Linked DNA regions of Homo sapiens: regions 1 and 3 are each linked to region 2. Evidence: promoter capture Hi-C in 16 types of primary human blood cells and fetal thymus (Javierre and others, 2016). All regions are on one chromosome and are shown on one strand. The core of a region is centred on a gene start or on the middle of the fragment in contact, and the rest is flanking DNA. Distances in the headings are between cores, read along the strand shown. Region 1 overlaps LOC124901607 (a long non-coding RNA gene). Region 2 holds the start of GGCT (gamma-glutamylcyclotransferase). Region 3 overlaps LOC124901607 (a long non-coding RNA gene).

What was found. The method cuts DNA at HindIII sites, captures the fragments that hold promoters and counts their contacts. A CHiCAGO score of 5 or more calls a contact.
Region 1: a contact is called between a fragment that was not itself captured here and the fragment with the promoter of GGCT in region 2, in 1 of 17 cell types (naive B cells). The highest score is 5.1, in naive B cells.
Region 3: a contact is called between a fragment that was not itself captured here and the fragment with the promoter of GGCT in region 2, in 7 of 17 cell types (total B cells, non-activated CD4 T cells, activated CD4 T cells and 4 more). The highest score is 6.7, in total B cells.

What each region holds. Positions count from the first base shown.
Region 1 is chr7:30,217,568-30,221,787 of GRCh38, forward strand. All of the region lies in intron 1 of LOC124901607 (a long non-coding RNA gene), which reads left to right. Among named protein-coding and RNA genes, the nearest start is that of ZNRF2, 65 kb to the right of the region's middle. The HindIII fragment of the contact is 1,612 bases long and covers 1,785-3,396 here.
Region 2 is chr7:30,502,266-30,507,104 of GRCh38, forward strand. GGCT (gamma-glutamylcyclotransferase) reads right to left here and starts at 2,564. Exons shown (of 4, transcript NM_024051.4): 1 at 2,304-2,564. The coding sequence starts at 2,444. RefSeq lists enhancers at 1,772-2,651, 2,300-2,509, 2,652-3,530, 2,950-3,039 and a silencer at 1,970-2,149. The HindIII fragment of the contact is 6,754 bases long and covers 1-4,839 here.
Region 3 is chr7:30,236,449-30,241,071 of GRCh38, forward strand. All of the region lies in intron 2 of LOC124901607 (a long non-coding RNA gene), which reads left to right. Among named protein-coding and RNA genes, the nearest start is that of ZNRF2, 46 kb to the right of the region's middle. The HindIII fragment of the contact is 4,856 bases long and covers 56-4,623 here.

The DNA of each region.
Region 1 (4,220 bases), core at 1,341-3,840, 280 kb before region 2:
AGCAAGACCCTGTCTCAAAAAACAAAAAAGAAAAATGATGGAGAAAGATATACCATGTTAACATTAATCAAAAGAAAGCTGGGGTAACTATATTAATTTCAGACTAAGTAGGGTTCAGAGCAAGGAAAATTATCAGTGATGAAGAGGGTTATTACATAATGATAAAAGGATCAATTCTTTAAGAAACAAAACAATCCTTATTGTGTATGTGCTTAACAACAAAGTATCAAAATATGTGAGGCAAAGACTGATAGAACAGCAAAAACAAATACATGAATGCATTATTATAGTCGGAGACCTCTATCAGAAATGAACATATGCAGCAGCCAGAAAATCAGTAAGGGTATAGCTTATCTCAGTGACATCATCAATCAACTGGATATAATTGACATCTATAGACTACTTCATTCAACAACAGCACGATGCACATTCTTCTCAAGCTCGCATGGAACATACACCAACATAGACCACATTCCGGGCCATGAAACACATCTTAACAATTAAAAAAAAAATAAAAATGATACAGTGTCTGCTTTCAGACCACAATGAAATTAAATTAAAATTGACAACATAAAGATACCAGGAAAATTCCCAGATACTTAGAGATTAAATAACACATTTCTAAATAACACATAGGTCAAATAAGAAATCTCAAGAGAAGTTTTAAAATATTTTTTAACTAAATGGAAATGAAAATACAACTTCTCAAAATTTATGAGATGCAGTGAAAGAAGTGCTGAGAGAGAAATGTATAGCATTGAATGCATATTTAGAAGAGAAAAAAGATCAAAATCAATAATCTAAGCTTCCACCTTAGGAAATTATTTAAAAAAACAAGCAAACTCAATCCAAAGTAAGCAAAGAAAAGAAATGATAGAAATTAGAGCAAACATCAATGAAATTGTAAACACAAAATCAATAGAGAAAATCAAACCATAAGCTGATTCTTTGAAAATATCAATAATAAAATTGATAAGTGTCTAAACCAGACTAATGAAGAAAAAAAAGAAATAACACAAACTACTAATATTAAAAATAAAAGGGGATATCACTACAGGTCCTGTGGATATTAAAAGAATAACAAAGGAATACTTTGAACAACTCTTCCCACAAATTTCATAAGCTGATAAAATGGATGAATTCCTTGAAAGACAAAATCTGCCAAAATTCACACAAGAAGAAATAGACAATCTGAATAGGCCTATATCTATTAAAGAAATTGAGTAACAGTTAATAACTTTCCAAAACAGAAAGTGCCAAGCCCAGGTAGGTTCATGGGTGAATTTTTCCAAAATTTAAGGAAAAAATCATACCAGTTCTCTACAATCTATTTCAGAAAATAGTGGCAGAGTGAATACTTTCTAACTCATTATATGAGGCTAGCATTACCCTCATACTAAAACCAAAGACATTACAAGGAAAGGAAACTACAGACCAACACTTCTCATAAACATAGATGCAAAAATTTTCAAAAAAATTTGGCAAATCAAATCCAACAATGTATAAAAAGAATTATACTCCATGACCAAGTGGGATTTATCTCAGGTATGCAAGTCTGGTCCAATATTCAAAAATCAATTAATGTAATTCATTACACCAAAAAGCTAAAGAAGAAAATCACATGATCGTATAAATAGATGCAGAAACAGCACCTGAAAAATTCCAACATCTATTCATGATAAAACTCTCAGCAAAGTAGGAATAGAGGGAAACTTCTTTAACTGGATAAGGAACATTTGCAAAATACCCACAGCTAGCATCACACTTAATGTTGAGAAACTAGAAGCTTTCTGCTAAGATCAGGAACAATGCAAGGATGTTCTCTTTCACCAATTATTTTCAACATCTAACTGGAAGTCCTAACTAATGCAATAAGACAAGAAAAAAAGATATATAGATTGGGAAGGAAGAAATAAAACTGCCATTGTTTGCAAATGATATAACTATGTATGTAGAAAATCTGAAAGAATTAACAAAAAACTCCTAGAACTAATAAGTGATGATAGCAAGGTTGCAAGATACAAGGTTAGTATACAAAAGTCAATCATTTTCCTAAATCCCAGCAATGAATAAGTGGAATTTGAAATTTAAAACACAATACTATTTACCCCAAAAATGAAATACTTAGGTATAAATCTAACAAATCATGCACAAGATCTACATGAGGAAGAATGCAAAACTTGGATAAAAGAAATCCTGGACGAACTTAATAAAGAGATGTTCCATGTTCATGGATAGGAAGACTCAATGTTGTCAAGATGTCAGTTCTTTCCCAACTTTATCTATAAAGTCAATGTGAAGTCAATGAAATCTTAGCAAGTTAATTTGTGGATACTGACAAACTGATCTAAAGTTTATATGGAGAGGCAAAAGACCCAGAAGTAGCAAGTCAACATTGAAGAAGAACAAAGTTGGAAGACCAACCCTATGTAATGGAAGATTTATTATAAAGCTACAGTAATCACAAAAGTGTGGTGCTAGTGAAAGAATAGACAGATAGCTCAATAAAACGGAACAGAGAGCCCAGAAATAGACCCACATAAATGTGGCTAACTGATCTCTAACACAGAAGCAAAGGCAATACAATGAAGAAAAGATAGTCTTTTCAACAAAGTGGTGCTGGAACAACTGGGTATCCACATGCAAAAATATAAATCTAGATACAAACCTTAAACCCATCACAAAAATTAACTCAAAATAGATCACAGACCTAAATGTAAAATGCAAACTATAAAACTCATAGAAGATAACATGGGAGAAAGTCTAGATGACCTTGGGTTTGGTGATGACTTTTTAGATGTAACACTAAAGGCACAATCCATGAAAGAAGAAACTGACAAAATGGACATCATTAAAATTCAAATGTTCTGCTCTGTGAAAGACACTGCTAAGAGAATAAAAGGATAAGCCATAGACTGGAAGAAAATATTTGCAAAGGCATATCTGATAAAGGACTTTATTCAAAATATATAAAAAAAAAAAACCCTTAAAACTCAACAATAAGAAAACAAACATCCTGATGTAAAAATGGGTCAAAGACTTTAATGGACACTTCACCGAAGAAGACATACAGTTAGCAAATAAGTATATGAAAAGATGTTCCACATCACGTGTCATCAGGGAAATGCAAATTAACACAAGATAACACCACCTACCTATTAGAATGGCCAAAATCCAGAATGCTGATAACACCAAATGCTGACAAGAAGTTAGAGCAACAAGAACTCTCATTCATTGCTGCTAGGAATGCAAAATGGTAGACACTTTGGAAGATGGTTTTATTACAAAAACAAATATATTCTTATCATATGATCCAGCAGTTATGCTCCTTGGTATTTACCCAAAGGAGTTGAAAACTTTCATCCACACGAAAACCTGCCCATGGATATTTACAGAAGCTTTATTCCTAATTTGCCAAAACTTGGAAGCAACCAAGATATCCTTCAGTAGGTAAGGAGATAAATAAACTGTGGTACATCCAGATAATGGAATATTATTCAGAACTAAAAAGGAATGAACTATCAAGCCAGAAAAGAAATGGATGTGAGCCTGGGCAACATAGCTAGACCCCATATCTACAAAAACATTAAAAAATTATCCAGGCATGATGGCTCACACTTGTAGTCCTAGCTACTCAGGAGGCTGAAGCAGGAGGATCACTCAAGCCCAGGAGGTCGAAGCTGCAGTGAGCTATGATTACGCCAATGCACTCCAACCTGGGTGACAGAGCAAGACTCTGTCTCTAAAAGAAAGACATAGATGAAATTTAATGCATATTACTAAGTGAAAGATGCCAATTTTAAAGGGCTACATACTGTATAATTCCCAGCATATGACAGTTTGGAAAAGGCAAAATGATGGAGAGAGTAAAAAGATGAATGGTTGTCAGGGCCTGGTGGAGGGATGAATATGCAAGGCACAGAGGATATTTAGTGCAGTAAAACTATTCTATAGGATACTATAATAAGTAAAACTATTATATCATATAGAATATAAAACTATTCTATATGATACTATAATGGTGAATATATGTCACTATACATTTATTCAAACCCATAGAATGCACAACACCTACAGTGGACCTTAATGTTAACTATGGACTGTAGATAGTAATGTGTTAGTGCGGGTTCATCAGCTGTAACGAATGTACCACTCTGGTGTGGGATGTTGATAATGGGGAGGCTGTGCATGGTGGGGGTAGAGGGTAATGGGAAATCTCT
Region 2 (4,839 bases), core at 1,314-3,813:
TCAGCTATCATTAGTTTTAGTGTATTTTATGTGTGGCCCAAGACAATTTTTCTTCTTCCAGTGTGGCCCAAGGAAGCCAAAAGGTTGGACACCCATGGTCTAGGCCATTTTCTCTATTCATTTGGCAATTTGCTCAAGACATTCTCATCCCCTCCAATGGCTTCAAATATTCTGATCATCTTTAAACCCAGACCAGATCTCTCTTCTGAGCTTCAGAAGTGCTTAGAACAGGGCCTAGCACACAGTAAGTACTTAATAAATGTTTGCTAATATTATTCTGTTCACTTGACTGTTTAGCAAGCATTTCAAATTCAAAATGTTCAAACTGAACTTAAAATTTTCTCCTCCCAAGCCGGATTTTCCTCTTTTCTCTGCAAACATCACCTGCATCTACCTGGTGCCAAAAACCTGAGTCATCTTTGGTATTCTCTTCACACTCAATCACTATGCTTTAACAATGTTATCTCCAAATTAGTTCTCAAATCCATCCACCCTGCCCTGCCACCACCCTAGTTCAAGATGCCATTCATTATCTTTGGCATAAATTGCTGCAAAAACTTCTTGAACTCTCCACATTCACTCTTCCCTCCTTCAAATCTATTTTCCATGTGACCAGAATGGGCTTTTGGAGATAGAAATCTATCTTTCATGTGCTTTAGTTCTGCAGTGTGTCTTATTTGGCTTCTGTGGTCCTGGAAGATGTGGCCCTTCCACATATCTCCAGTCTTCATGCCACATTCCCCTTACTAAACTCCAGCCACACTGACTGAAAGATCCAGCTTCCTCTTTCTTCAGGTCCTTTGCAGAAGATGCTGTTCCCTGTTTTGTGTGCTCCCCACCTCTACAATCATTCAGGTCTCAACTTAAAAGTCACATTTTCAGGCAGGGCTTTCCTGAGCATCCTGGTTAGGTCAGGTACCCTGGTCATACGCCCCATTGCACTTTGCATGCCTCCTTTTTAAGATGGACCATATACCTGTAACTGAATAATCCCTTGTTTAATATCTCTTCCCCTTGCCCTGACTGTAAGCATTTGGACTCCCTTCCTACAGTTGGGAAATTCCCTACCTTACGAGTTTGGGAATAGGGAGTATCAGAGCCTGACTCCCATTTTTGAGGCTTCAAAGGCCAGAAGCTGGTTCTCTCAGTTTTGCTTAAAATCACGGCATGGGTACGTGGCCAAAACTTAGCCAATCGGGACATTCTGGGGCTTTCAATTAGAAGCTAGTGCCCAAGACAGCAGGGACTCCAGAGAGGCTGACACATTTGGGTTTCAGGAACTGCAGGGATGTACAGAGGCAGGCAGTGTCCAGGGCAGGGGGTGGTGGACAATACAGCATCCACGTTTACCAAGTTCAGCAGTGGCGTGGAAGAGGCTCCGTGGGCTGGTTCTGTTGTGTGATGCCCACTGTATTACAGTTGCTGTGCCTCCCTTTATGCTTGTCCGTTTTGTCAGCTTTGTACTCCTGCCTTCCTGGTCATTCTGTGAGCTCTCCAATAGCCTTTCAACACATTCTTTTTTTTTTTTTTTTTTTTTTTTTTGCTTAAATCAGCCAGTTTCTGTTGCTTGCAACTAAGAACTCACGATGTTAGCAGAGATCATGTTTGTCTCATTCGACGCTGTCAAAAAGGTTTTGAACATAATCTATTGCACCTCTGTCCTACAGACTGAGAGTTCCTCGAAACAGCCACTTTACTCAATCATGTTTATACCCTTAGTGTTAAGTGCCGGAAGAATATGTACTAAATGAATGAATGGACTGGGCTGAAGAGCAATGATTTACCAACACTGGTTATAGTTCATGCAGCCCCTTGACCTAACTGAACACAGCATTATTACAAATAAGACATGGTCCCAGCTTTCAGGACCTCTTAGATGAGGAGCGAAAGGCAGGTAAACGGATTTTCACAATGCCAGGTGAGAAGTGCTGTAACAAAGGTTATGTACAGAACAGAAGGCAACCAATTCCCAGACACGGGTCAGAGAAGACTCTCCAGAAGTACCAACTGTATGCAATCTGTTAAGTTAGTGGACGAGAGGCCAAATCGGTGCAGACCGAGCAGCCGGTGCAAAGGCCAGGAGGGGGAAAGCTCCAGGCAGCCCGAGAGGGCACCGTGGCCCGGGCAGGGCCGGGCAGTGGGCGCAGCGGAGGAGGTGGACCCGCCCAGGAGGCGGAAGCCGCGTCCTAGTACCCTCATCAAGAAGAACTGCATTCCTGGCCCGATCGGCCACGTGTGCCCCCGAGGAAGCGCCTTCTGGGCATCCCGGCCCCGGCGTGGGTAGCGCGGGAGGGGGCACTCACCTGCAGGCGGGCCACACAGAAGAACGCCGCCGAGGGGTTTCGGAGGTGGATCCTCTCTGTCAGCAGGTTGCTGCCGTAGGCAAAGTACAGAAAACTCTCCTCATCTGGACCCGTGACGTCCTTGCAGCCCGAGTTGGCCATATCCCACTACGCCCCTGCACTGGAGCCTGAAGCAGAGTGTAAGGAACGGCCAGAGAGCGCAACACTGGGGCCCACTACCCCGGCGCAGTGACCGCCGCGCGGCAGCCTCAGGGTTAGGGGACTGGCGGGAAGCGTGGGCCGGTCGAGTCAGGAGCGAGCGCTCTCCTGATTGGCTGCCGGTCCCCACCGACCTGAGTCGCCCCCTTTGATTGGCCATCCCCACGGCCTTCCCTCCGCCTTCCGCCGAGACTCAGAAATAGTCTGTCCTGAAGCAATCCGGCGCTGGCTCCTCATTGGACACGACCTACTGATGTCCCGCCCCTCCTTGCTCAAGGCTTCCTCTGATTGAGGGGTGGACAGGCACTCCTCACAGGCGGGTCGGGTCCCATGGACACTGGCTGAAGGTCGTGGCGCGTGACTGGTTTCTTCGCTCTGGGGTGCTTGTGTGTGGTTCTTTGGTACTTTCTGTGCCTTAGGAAGTTCTGGTCAGATCTGAGGCGAAACAGCGGCCCAGGCGACTCCATCAACGGCTCCCTCATCCGGCAGCTCGCCGGGTCCTGCCTTCCTGGCCTAGAGGAGTCGGGCAGGACGGGTCCGTTCACCCTTTCTGCTGGTTCCGGCACCCCCAGCACTGGTCATCAATCTGACCCCTTTCCACGGACCCGTCGCCTGCTGGAGCGGCCCCTCTGAATGCTTGGGACTCCCTTCCCTGTTACATGGAAGTTACATGCCTGGGCTTAAATCCCGACGCTGCCATTTACTAGCCAAGTAACTTTGGGCACCTCTGGTCTCCGTTTCCTCTTTTTAAAAATCGGGATCATAATATAAGTTAGGGTCACAGTAGAAACCCCTATATTGTGTTTTGGTTACCCCCTCCCACACACACACACATCCTGGGTGTATTTTTTAAAACCTATATTGTTAACTTTTGAATGAACATAAGGGCATAGGAACATTGTCTATCCTTGACACCCAGCTATTAATCTCTAAATACCACCCCCCACTAAAAGGTACCAAGTGATCCTTCGAGAAATGACTGATGCCAGGTCAGGAGCTAGGAGTGAATGAGGACAACTTGGAACATCTTGTGTCAGAAGCTCAGGACGCCTCTCAAGACGAACGAGGTCCTTCTAAAAGGACATGGGAACCAGCCTGAAGTTGCCCACTGGCCAAAATTAGAACAATTTGAGAATCAAAAATAACAATGACTGCAAACTGAAAAATGATTGGAAACTTTAAACATAAAAAAGCCATTCCCCCCAAAGAGTAATCCAAATTAAAAAAAAAACTATAACTTCATTTGCCACACTATTGGTGGTGACTATTACACCAACTTTACTCTGCAAAGTGATAATTTAAGAAAACAAACAGGTATTCCGCCTTTCTAGTAGCAGCTGTATTTCGGGGTAACTGAAATACAGCTGATGACGAGCATCAGTTGATGAGGAAACAGTTCTCTTTACAAAAGTATGCCAACTAAGTCATCCTAAATGAATAATGGAATTTTATAATTGATTCATGCCAGGATCATCAGTGATATCATTTGGTGAAAAGGTGATAGGGAACAGGATATTCACTTGATGCCAAATTACTCCCTGAGGATTACTGCTGGTTACAATTTATTTATTTTATTTTTATTTTTTTGAGACAGAGTCTCACTCCGTCGCCCAGGCTGAAGTGCAGTGGTGTGATGTCGGCTCACTGCAAGCTCCGCCTCCCGGGTTCACACCATTCTCCTGCCTCAGCTTCCTGAGTAGCTGGGACTACAGGCACCCGCCACCATGCCTGGCTAATTTTTTGTATTTTTAGTAGAGACGGGGTTTCACCATGTTGGCCAGGATGGTCTTGATCTCCTGACCTCGTGATCTGCCCGCCTCGGCCTCCCAAAGTGCTGGTGTGTCCGGAATTGTGGGTTCTTGGTTTCACTGACTTAAAGAATGAAGCCGCTGACCCTCGCGGTGAGTGTTACAGTTCTTAATGATGGTGTGTCCGGAGTTCGTTCCTTCAGATGTTCAGATGTGTCTGGAGTTTCTTCCTTCTGGTGGGTTTGTGGTCTCACTGACTTCAGGAGTGAAGCTGCAGACCCTCGCGGTGAGTGTTACGGCTCTTAAAGGCGGTGCATCTGGAGTTGTTCATTCCTTCTGGTGGGTTTGTGGTCTTGCTGACTTCAGGAATGAAGCTGCAGACCTTCATGGTGAGTGTTACAGTTCATAAAGGTGGCTCGTCCAGAGTTGTTCATTCCTCCCATCCGGAGTTGTTTGTTCCTCCCGTCCAGAATTGTTCGTTCCTCCTGTCTGGAGTTGTTCCTTCCTGTGGGTTCATGGTCTCGCTGGCTTCAGGAGTGAAGCTGCAGACCCTCGCGGTTGAGTGTTACGGCTCTTAAAGGCGGTGCATC
Region 3 (4,623 bases), core at 1,234-3,733, 270 kb before region 2:
CTCAACAAACTCCGTACACAACTGTCTGACCTCCTTCATGTCAATTTGATAGTTAAGCTTCATGGGATGAGACCCATTCACTTTTGAATCCCTCACGGTGCCTTGCCCATAGTAGGGACAGCTCAATAAATGTTTCATAAAACTATAAATGATGGTTTCTCTTCTCTCTCCTGGAATCATTTCTACAGACTTTCCTGCGTTTGATACATGCATGCCCTGGTGACAGATCATGTGCTAGAACTGGGATAATAGCCATTGTCATAGGACGTTATGTAGTTGGGATTATGTTGGTCATAAAGCAACAGAAAGAAAACAAGTAAGAATGGCTTAAAAGAATTGAAAAGCTATTTCTTTCTAATGTTCCAGAAATCTAGAAGCAGGCAACCCATGATTGGAATGGAGCTCCATGGTGTCAGGGACCCAGGTTTCTTCTTTTTGCTCTGCCACAAGTGGCTTCCATTCCCAAGGTCACCTCATGGTTCAAAATGGCACCTGGAGCTCTGAGCACTAGTCATTACATGAACATTCCAGCCATCAAGAAGGAGGAAGAGGAGAATGAAGGCATGCCTCCCTCTTCAGAAGTTTCATGTACCACCTCCACTTATGTCCCATTGGCCAGAACTTTGTCAAAAAAGCCTGAAAGGCATAGATTTTATTATGGGGTGCCTTGTTCCCAGCTAATGTTTAGGAATCTCTCCCTATGGAAGAAGGGTAGAACTGACGTTGGGAAACAACTGGCAGCCTCTGCCATTGACCTGTCCTCAGCCATCCCATCACTAGCCAATATGAGTTTCATTAAGCATGTAGCATCTACTCTGATGATGTAGGGAAGGTTACCATGACAGTGACTTACAATTAACCAGGTGTTTGGGACCAGTGCCAACAAACACTGCCTGAGAGATGACAGGCTTCTTTAGTTGCCCCATAATGGCACATTTCCGTTTCTGACATGGTCCCCATGGTGTCACAGGGGTGACCTGGGTCACTACTCTCTGCCTAGCAGAGCCAGGCCATGAACTGCAAGTCAGCATCTTTCCTGCAGCAGTGATTGCTTATGTCCTGCACATGCTGGCTGACAGCAGCATTCAAATCATCAGAGAAATCAGGAAGTTGGAGTTAGGTATTCTCATTACATATATAAAGAAATAGAAGAGGCCAAAGTTTCAGAATACAAGTTATTTGACTCACACTTGTGAGGTCATGGGGTGCTGCCCTTTCTGACATCACTAGGGGACTGACAGGCCAGTAGATCTGAGAGCAGAAAAGCAATGATTGGGTCATTTTAGAACAGAGGAAAATAAACGGTTTTTATTTGATAAAAAGCAGATAATAATATTATTCATATTATTAGCTACCATTTAGCTAGGAACTGTGCAAGCCCTATGGTTGCCAGCATCCAAGAAAACCCCCAATGATACTTGTTTCCTGATATTCATGCCTTTGCGTAGTCCCCTCCCATATTGAATCAGGGCTGACCTCTTTAACAAATAGAATACAATGGAAGTGGTGATTGTGACTTCTGAGGCCAAGTCCTAAAATGCATTGCAGTTTCTGCTTTGGTCTCTTGGTGGGTCACTCTGGGAGAAGCGAGTTGTCACTTTGAGGACACTCCATCAATCCTGTGGAGAGGAACTGAGGTCTCCTGCCAAGAACCAGCACCACATATCAGCCATGTGAGTGAACAGCCTTACAAGAAGATCCTCCTGCCCCAGTCTAGCCTTTGGATGACTGCAGCCCTGGCTGACATCCATGAACCTTATAAGACCCTGAACCAGTACCACCCAGCTAAACCATTCCTCAATTCCTGACCCTCAGAAACTATGAGATAATTAATTTTTATTGTTCTTTAGGCCACTACATTTTGGGGTAATTTGTTAGGCAGCAAAACATAATGAATACAGCCTCTTTATATAATTTATTAATCACAATACCACTTGAAACTAGGTATTATTTCCCTGTTTTACTGATAAAGAAACTGATAATTTTTCCCCAGGTCAAAGAAGCTCGTAGAAGGAAAGCTGTTACTTTAGCATAGCTCTGCTTGCACAAAACCTACATGCTGAACAACTGCTCACTATGCTACATGGCAAGTGGACCCACTTAGGACTTCCAGAATGCCTGGAAGAGAAAAGCCAAATGTCCCTAAATGAATTGATTCTAGTGAGAGTGATTGTGAGGGTTACATGCTAGCGTTCAAAATTATATAGACTCTATAGGCATCTGTTAATCTGTGCTCTAAAATCCACAGCCAGATTGAAACTCAAGTGCATGATTGTGTTATGAAAATCAAAGTGAGGTTAACCCAGGGACTACCTATCAAGAAAGCCCCCATTTAGGTGCTTGGAATGCAGAAAGATTCCCAAAGTTCCAGCAGAGTCTGTGCAGCCTCAAACAATTGCCTTTACCAGGGCCTTACAACCTGATGTCATTTGGGGATGCTGTATTTAAAGTTGCCTGAGTTACAGAGAACAGGGATATGGTCTATTATCTCAGAGGTGGGCATGAGCTCTATGGGGTGGAATGATCATTTGCCTCCTTATTTGCCCAAGAAATGTAGGGTGGAATGATCATTTGCTCTCCTCTTTTTTTTTTTTTCTGTGATGGATCAGTTTCTATTTACCATCTTGGCTCCCTGCCAGTGTGCTGACAGTGCCAAATTTGGTTGGTACATACTTGTCAGCAAAAGAATGTGAGTACTGCTCTGAAGTCACAGCAAATAATGGGTTTCTGAGATCTTCTCTTTGACTCACAGGTTTCCATGTGTCTCATTCTAGCCAGAGGCTTCACTGCAAGACCAAGAAGCCATTTAATATCTAGTGGAGGTTTCTGGTCTTGTATTGTTGGCTAAGAAAGCCAGAAATGTGGGTGAGAGAGAAGTCTGTTCTTGTTCCCCAGGCTTCCCCCATTGCACTCCAGATGCAAATCTGTTCTGGTAACCACATAGCCAAATAAACAAATGAGGATGGAAAGTCTCTTGCTGAAAAATGAAATGTCACTTCTAAAACAGAATTCATGATCTTCTTTCAGCTCTTTCAAACTTCCCTTTCTATGTTGGTGCCAACATGCCCCTGAGCTCAAAACTTTGGCATTAACATTGACTGTTCCCTCCATTCAGCCTTTCAAATTGAGCCAATCATCCAGGCTTGTCAATTGTGCCTTCAAAATATCCTAGGATTATTTCTCCTCCATTTTTACTTTGCTTTTATGTCATCACCTAGATAGATACCCGTGCCCAAATTTCTTTCCCCATTAGTAGCTCTAAGCTGCCTACTGCAATGATTACAAATTTATGCATCTAGCTTTCAAGACCCTGCATAGTTTATTCCTTCCTAACTTTATTAGGCTCAGGTCCCGGTGCTAATCCTTCTGCATACACATGTGCTCATGTGTACATACACACACAGACACACACTGCTGTGTGTATACACCATGCCCTGCACCATCACTCACCTTTCATTTGGGCTGCCTTCTCTGCAGTTTTGGATATTCCTTTTATTCTTATTTTTTTAATTTTACTTTTATTTATTTATTTTTTTTGAGACGGAGTCTCGCTCTGTCGCCCAGGCTGGAGTGCAGTGGCGCTATCTCGGCTCACTGCAGCCTCCACCTCCTGAGTTCACGCCATTCTCCTGCCTCAGTCTCTTGAGTAGCTGGGACTACAGGCGTGCGCTGCCATGCCCAGCTAATTTGCATATTTTTAGTTGAGACAGGATTTCACCATGTTGGCCAGGCTGGTCTTAAACTCCTGACCTCAAGTGATCCACCCGCCTTGGCCTCCCAAAATGAGGATGTTCCTTTTAATCCTTTGTCTGTCTTAACTCATTCTTAAGGAAAACTTTCTTGCCTCCTGCCGCCCACAGTCATCTCTCCTTTGACTATTTCCACAGGCTGTTATTTTCACTATTGGCCAAACCACACCTCTGCACTAGCCTCATTTTCTAGATCCCTCAGGCTTCTACAATCTCTCTGGACTCAAAAGTCTTTGGGAAAACAAAAATAGAACTGATTGACAGTAAAGCACAGCTCCTGATGACCCAGCTCACAAATGCTGCTAATCAGAGCCACTATCCCAGAGACCACATTGTGCCGAGATTCATGGTTTGCTGGGCAGAAGGAAAAGCACCCGGTAATTGGCTGTGACCACAAAGGTCAACCACATGAACACCCAGCAAGACAGGCATGATAAAAAGCAATAGAAGGCCTGGAGAGAAAAAAGCTGTGGTGGTAAGTGGTACTGGATGTGATTAGAGGTGGGGACAGGAGTTATGAGCAGCAGACACTCTGCAGGAGAGAAGCAAGTTGATGATGAAGTGAGAGAAGATACCAGCTTTATGGTCTGTAGAGGTGGCAATAAGCTCTCTCTCTCTCTCTCTTTCTCATTGTCTCTCTCTTTCTCGTTGTCTCTCACTTTCTCTCTCTCTCTCAATGGTATAGCCCTCAGGAATGAAGAAGACTCTGGGGAAAGCAGCAGCTTCCTCTCCTGCTATGTGGAACATCTCGGTATCATATGTAACCCCCTCTGCAATTATCCGCCAGGGGCAGCAAGCAGCTCAAGTACCTACAGATACCAAATGGATAATGTAAATGTGCAAAGTAGGGCAGGTATTAGGAATGGAGAGAGGT